Linked DNA regions of Homo sapiens: region 2 is linked to region 1. Evidence: promoter capture Hi-C in 16 types of primary human blood cells and fetal thymus (Javierre and others, 2016). All regions are on one chromosome and are shown on one strand. The core of a region is centred on a gene start or on the middle of the fragment in contact, and the rest is flanking DNA. Distances in the headings are between cores, read along the strand shown.

Region 1 (3,319 bases), core at 428-2,927:
TTCCACACGTACCGGGCACCCTGCGGGGAGGGAGAGAGCCAGGCCTCAGCCCACAGCCCCGAGCCCCACACCTCTGCCCTCCCCCTGCTGTGCCCAGCACACCCACCAGCCCCCATCACCTGGTGCTTCGCCAGCCATTCCTGCACCAGATTCTTCCCGTCCAGCCTGGTCCCACCTTGGCTGTAGTCATCTGGGTACTCAGGGTCTGGGGTCCCCATGGGAAACATGTACTTTCGGCCTCCACCTAGGATCACCTGGGAACAGAGGATGGGGCAGGTGGATTTGGGGGCCTGGCTGGCCCCGTGTCCCCTCCTCATGCACAGCCCCTGACTCCCCTCCCCAAGGCTGTGGGAATGGCCCAGCCTGGGCTGCGCCTTCTACGCCCCCAACCCCACCTCCAGACCCTGCTGGCCCAGATAAGGCTTTTGGTTGCCTGGGTCTGAGCTGGTGCCCCCTCCCTGCTACTCTCTGCCCAGCCCCAGCCCTTGGCCCGGGGGTCGCACATCAATGTCCATGTTGGAGATGAGCTGCGTGGCGATGTCCTGGCACCCCTCCTGGCGGGCCGAGGCAGGCACGTCGGCATCCGAGTACCAGTTGCGGTTCACCGTGTGGGCGTAGGCGCCGGCTGGCGAGGCATGCTGCACCCGTGTGGTGGTTACCACTCCCACTGACTTTCCTGAGGGTGATAGAGGTCAGGATATGCGATAGAGGTCTGTCACCTGGCCCTGACCCCACAGCGGGCCCCAGCTCACCTGCTTTCTTGGCCCGATTCATCACGGAGATGACCTCGTTGCCGCGTGTCGTGTTGCACTGGTTAAAGCGGGCGGCTGCACTCAAGCCAATGGTCTGGAAGTTGCCCTTGACCCCGCACAGGTAGGCCGTGGCTGTGGCTCCACTGTCTGGCACATGCTTGTCTACACTGTATGTCTGGGGACAGAGACACTCTGAGCTCTTCTCTGGGGCAGACAAACAAGACCCTGATCTCTGTCCTCTGGGATTCCAACTGCCTCCAGCTCCTTATTGGAGCCCCAGCTGTTTAGGGTCCCTCCCTCCTACCACACTCCATAGCCAGGATTCCCCTTCTCTGCTTGGAGGACTCTAAGGTAGCCCAGCACTTACCTTGGACAGAGCCACGTACGGGAAGCGGTCCATGGCCAGGAAGGTCTCAGGCCCCAGTTTGTCCTTCTTCTGCCCTTTTAGGATCCTGGCAGCTGTCACCGTAGACACCCCCATCCCTGAAGGAGCAGAAGTGTGTGAGGCTTGCTCCCCAGGGCTGTCCTGGAACCACTGAGGGTCCGGGCGCCGGGGCTGTGAGGGCTGCGGGGCTGGAAGGCCTGGCTCACTCACCGTCACCCAGGAAGATGATGAGGTTCTTGGCGGCTGTCTGTGCAGGCTGCAGCTTCTTGGCGGCACCCAGGGCCTCGGCTGCCTGGCGGTTCCAGAAGTCCGGGTTCTCCTCCTCAACTGGCCAGGGGGAGAGCAAAGATCAGGTCAGCCTGGGCTGGGGGGTGCCCTGTGTGTGTGTGTGTGTGTAGGGGCAGCTGGGGGAGCCTCATTACCTGGGATGATGCCCAGGGAGAGCTGTAGCCTCAGGCCCAGCAGGAGCAGCACCCAGGGCCCCTGCATGTCTGGAAGCAGTCGGAGAGCGGCGAGGCGGAAATCCCAGGTATGGAGTATGAGCTGCACTCCAGGCTGCCTGGGTTTAAATCAGGGAAAACTGTGTCCTGGCCCCTCCCCTTGTTACCACCTTGACCCCGCCCAGCCTCTTGACCTGAAGCCACACTGGCTGAAGGGAGTGGCAGGGTGTGGCTGGGCTGGGCTGGGGCTGGGGTCCTGAGAAAGGCAGCTTAGGGTGGGACCAGGTGTCCCCCAGGGAAGGGTGGGATTTTGGGTATAGTGCAGTGTGCATCCTGCCGCCAGGGGCCCCTCCCCCAACCCCTGCTCACTGTGTCTTGTGTGGAACTAGACACCCTGTCACTCGTTCATCCACCATTTTTTTTTTCTGTATTTCCTGGGAGCTGGGGGCCAGGCTCTGTTCTGGTGTCGAGAGGAGGGGAGGCTGGAAGCACACAGCCCGGGCCAGATACTGGGTTCAGCTTTCTGATGCCAGGAGCCTGGGCCCGGTGGGAAAGGGGCACATGGGGGGCTTTGCCGCTCTGGCACCCCCTTGCTCCAACATCTGGCCTTGGCCTGGACAGGTGGGGCTGGCAGGAATCTAGGCCCAGAGCTCCAGGGCTGTGGGCATCTGTGGGGCCAATGGTGACAACACTGAGTGGGGCCGGGCCAGTCCTGCCCATTGCTTACATGTTGTGTTTGATTGTGTATGTGTTTGTGTGGGTGCACTCGCACTAATGTTTGGACGACGCAGTGGGGGAGAGTCCAGTGCCCTCGGCCAGACAGGCCTGGGCTGGGTCTTCCAGAGCAGCTTGTGCACTTGATTGTGACACCTGTTCCCTTGCACAGGCAGAGGGTGCCTGGGCGGACTCTGTTTTCGGTGGGCCCTGAGCATGCCCAGAACTGTAGCCTTTCACATGGGGATCAGATGTTTTGATAGCCTCAGGCTGAGTTAAAAAGTATTTCTGCAGTTCAGATACCTTGCCATCATTTTTTTCTTTCTGTTTTATTATTATTATTTATTTATTTTTTTGAGACAGGGGCTGGCTCTGTCACCCAAGTTGGAGTGCAGTGGTGCATTCACGCCACACCTCCTAGGCTCAAGCGATCCTCCCACATCAGCCTCCCGTGTATCTTCCATTATGTGAAGCTAATTTTCAAAAATTTGTGTAGAGTCAGGATCTCTTTCTGTTACCCGTGCTGGTCTTGCACTCCTGGGCTCAGGCGATCCTTCAACACTGCTAGGGTTCCAGACTTGAGCCACCAATCTGGGCCCACATTCAGGAGAAATGGATTTGGAGAGGAACCAGAGTGCTCAAGGGTGTGTGACATGTGCCACAATCGTGGGCAAAACAGACCTCTGCCCTTGTGGAGGGCACAATCTAGTGGAAGAGGAATGTTTTTAGAGATGTACAAAGTGCTGGCCATCAAATTGTGGGGAGTTGCTGGAATAGGACAAGGGGCCTAGGAAGGCCTTTCCTAGAAAATGTGGTTTGAAGGCCGGGCACAGTGGTTCACGCCTGTAATCCCAGCACTTTGGGAGGCCGAGGCGGGTGGATCACAAGGTCAGGAGATCGAGACCATCCTGGCTAACACGGTGAAACCCTGTCTCTACTAAAAATACAAAAAATTAGCCGGGCGTGGTGGCAGGCACCTGTGGTCCCAGCTACTCGGGAGGCTGAGGCAGGAGAATGGTGTGAACCCG
Region 2 (3,319 bases), core at 241-2,740, 81 kb before region 1:
TTATCCTCCTGGAGACGGGAACATTGAGGGAAAAATGCAGATTAAAAGCACAAAGAGCCACTTTGCCACCTCCCTGCCCTCCCCTCCCCCCTTCATGGAATCGCCACATTATAAGTAATTCCATTTTTCCTCTTTAGAATTAATAGGACCCAAGAAGGATGCATGGGGCAGAGGACAACCCTGGGGTGGCCAGAGATGGAGGCAGGGTATCCGGAGTGGGGGCTTAGAGATGGAGAGATGAAGAGGCAGGGAGAGGCAAGACAGGGGCAGAGGCCGGCACTCAGGGCCAGGGCTCAGGAGCTGGGCAGATGCACAGACCCTGAGGAGGAGAACAGGATGATGGGTAGGTTATCAGAGTCCCTACCTTGTTGTGATTTTTATTAGATGGTGCTCCATGGCTCTCACACATTGTTTAAGCCAATCCTACGGGCTGGAGCCGGCAGACCTGGGAGGGCTGGTGCTTTGTGGGGTCTCCTGCTAGAGACACCAGAGGCAGGGTAGGGCAGAGAAAGCAGAGACTCCAGAAACAGTATCAGTCTTCCAAGGAGCCCCAAGTTCTCTGTGTCCCATTAGGGCCAGGCTGTCTGGCCAAGGCAGGCAGGCAGGTAGAAGAGGGCTTTGCCTCCAGGCAGTGGGGAGGCCCCACATTTAAAAAGCCAGTTTACCTGGAAGAAGGCAGGCGGTGAGTAAATTCAGAGTCCCTGCACCCAGCCTGCCCTCCCATCAGTCCACATACCAGGGTCTTGAGGCTCAGGGCCTGTCTGAGGCCTAGGGCTGCTGGCCAGAGGGGGCAGGCTCCAGCCTTCCCTGGCTCCAGCAGGGAGACTTCGCTCATTCTTCTCTTGGCCTTTTCTTCCTACCTGGGCCAGGGACTCCCTGAGCCGTGGTGCCAGGGCCACCCAAGGCTGGGGAGGATGGGGAAGGGGGCGGCAAGCCCTCTTCTTGCAGGAGTCCCCGCTGAGCTCCCTTCACCAGGGGCTAGGTGAAGGGAGCGAGGCCAACCAGAAGCCCTAGTGGAGAGCCCATCCAGGGCAGGGGTTCCAAGGAGGACAAAAAAGCCGGTTAGTGAAGGTGCGCTCTGCGCCAGGGACTGTGCCGGCAGACACAGGCACTACTGACACCGCCCCCAGCCCTTCGGAGGAGTCCTCGGCTCCTCATCTCCAGCTCCAGCCCCTTTCCAGCCGGCTGGTGGGCGGCTGGGAGTGGGGACACTGGATCGGAGGGGACCCTTCACGGGAGTACTCGCTGCCCTCACTCGTCTCGGAACGCGGCTGGACCCGGAGTCCCCGACCGCAGCCCGCGCACGACCCCCGGGAGCCTGTCTCCGCGGCCGCCGACCCACGTCCGCGCTGCCGCCCCACTGCCAGGTGGCCCGAGAGATGCAGGAGGAAGGAGGGGCGCGCGGGGCGGGCGGAGGAGGGTGGAGCCGCCGGCGCGCCCCCTCCCTCGGGCCGGCAGGCGGGCGGCGCGGCGGGCTCGGCGCGGCGGCAGAGGAGGCGGCGGGCGCTGGGAGACACCGGACGCCCGCTCGGCTGCGCTGCGGCTCAGGCCCCCGCTCGGGCCCGACCCGCTCGGTCACCGCCGGCTCGGGCGCGCACCTGCCGGGTAAGTGGCGCCCGAGTCCCTGCCGCTGAGGCCACCACCGCGGCCACTTCCGTCGCCGCCGCCGCCACTGCGCGGAGCCTCCCGGCTTTGTCTGCGTCCTCTCGGCTGCGGCTCCGGCTGCGGCTGCGGCTGCGGCTCCCGGGCTCGGCTCTCGGGCTCCGCGGACTGCGCCGCACGGCGCCGGGGCTCGGGGGTCGCCAGCCAGCTCGCTCCCCGCCGGGGGTGAAACTTCGCCCAAGTTTGGGTTCTGGGGAGAACCTGTTGAAGCCAGGAGTGGCTCGGGGCGGGGACAGAGATGGTGGGAGTGGGGGGAGGGAACCCGTCTCGGGTTCTCCATCAGGGCCGTCCAGTGGGTGGGTTGTGTGTCCGCCACCCTGGGGCGTTGGCGCGCGCCCCTAGGGAAGGGGCGAGTGGGCCGTCGGGCCACCGAGCAGAAGGAGCCAGGGAGCGGGGTTGGCGTGGTCGATCCCGCGGACTTCCGCGAGGACAAAGTTTGGTTCTTTGGCCGCTTTGCGGAGCGTCTGTCTGGGTCCAGCGCGGAGAGCTGAAAGTGTCGCATAGACGCGCCCCTGACCGCACCTCCTCACTCCAGCCTCCGCTTCTTCCCCCACTCCACCCGGCCTTGGCTGGGGCAGGTCGTGGAAGAGAAAGGCGAAGGGGAAGAGGGACGACCTTTCAATGAAGGCCCACTACGTGCCAGGCCCCTTGCCTGGCGCCTCTTGCTTCCAATAAGAGCCCTCCCAACCCTGCGGCCCTCAAGTGTGTGCAGGGAGGGGACAGGGGGGAAGACTCCACTGTGCACCCGGGGGTGGTGGCCCCGCCGAACCCTCATAGTCCCTGGTTTCCGCAGTGAATGAGGCCCGCGGCTGGGGCCTCTGCACCCAGGCCTGTGTCCCTCCTCGCGGTGACCCTGAGCCCCATCCGGCTGCGGCGCCTCCTGAGCCTGCTTCCGCCCTTCCCGCAGCTGCGGCCCCAGGGCCATGCGGAGGCCCACGAGGAGGCCGGCGGCCACGCGCATCCCGTAGCCCAGGTGGCCCAGGTCTGCACCGCGGCGGCCTCGGCGCCATGGAGCCCCCGTATTCGCTGACGGCGCACTACGATGAGTTCCAAGAGGTCAAGTACGTGAGCCGCTGCGGCGCGGGGGGCGCGCGCGGGGCCTCCCTGCCCCCGGGCTTCCCGTTGGGCGCTGCGCGCAGCGCCACCGGGGCCCGGTCCGGGCTGCCGCGCTGGAACCGGCGCGAGGTGTGCCTGCTGTCGGGGCTGGTGTTCGCCGCCGGCCTCTGCGCCATTCTGGCGGCTATGCTGGCCCTCAAGTACCTGGGCCCGGTCGCGGCCGGCGGCGGCGCCTGTCCCGAGGGCTGCCCTGAGCGCAAGGCCTTCGCGCGCGCCGCTCGCTTCCTGGCCGCCAACCTGGACGCCAGCATCGACCCATGCCAGGACTTCTACTCGTTCGCCTGCGGCGGTTGGCTGCGGCGCCACGCCATCCCCGACGACAAGCTCACCTATGGCACCATCGCGGCCATCGGCGAGCAAAACGAGGAGCGCCTACGGCGCCTGCTGGCGCGGCCCGGGGGTGGGCCTGGCGGCGCGGCCCAGCGCAAGGTGCGCGCCTTCTTCCGCTCGTGCCTCGACATGCGCGAGATCGAGCGACTGGGCCCGCGACCCATGCTAGAGGTCATCGAGGACTGCGGGGGCTGGGACCTGGGCGGCGCGG

The links. Contacts are between HindIII fragments. The CHiCAGO score rates a contact against its expected background, and 5 or more counts as called.
Region 2: a contact is called between the fragment with the promoter of ECEL1 here and the fragment with the promoter of ALPG in region 1, in 1 of 17 cell types (erythroblasts). The highest score is 5.5, in erythroblasts.

Annotation. Positions count from the first base shown.
Region 1 is chr2:232,405,202-232,408,520 of GRCh38, reverse strand. ALPG (alkaline phosphatase, germ cell) reads right to left here and starts at 1,677. Exons shown (of 11, transcript NM_031313.3): 1 at 1,560-1,677; 2 at 1,348-1,464; 3 at 1,120-1,235; 4 at 753-927; 5 at 504-676; 6 at 120-254; 7 at 1-20. The coding sequence starts at 1,626. RefSeq lists enhancers at 1-51, 414-1,613. The HindIII fragment of the contact is 10,567 bases long and covers 1-3,319 here.
Region 2 is chr2:232,486,005-232,489,323 of GRCh38, reverse strand. ECEL1 (endothelin converting enzyme like 1) reads left to right here and starts at 1,490. Exons shown (of 18, transcript NM_004826.4): 1 at 1,490-1,605; 2 at 2,570-3,319. The coding sequence starts at 2,671. It overlaps LOC124906124 (a long non-coding RNA gene), which reads right to left and starts at 1,381. Exons shown (of 3, transcript XR_007088123.1): 1 at 365-1,381; 2 at 1-8. RefSeq lists an enhancer at 2,836-3,319. The HindIII fragment of the contact is 9,213 bases long and covers 1-3,319 here.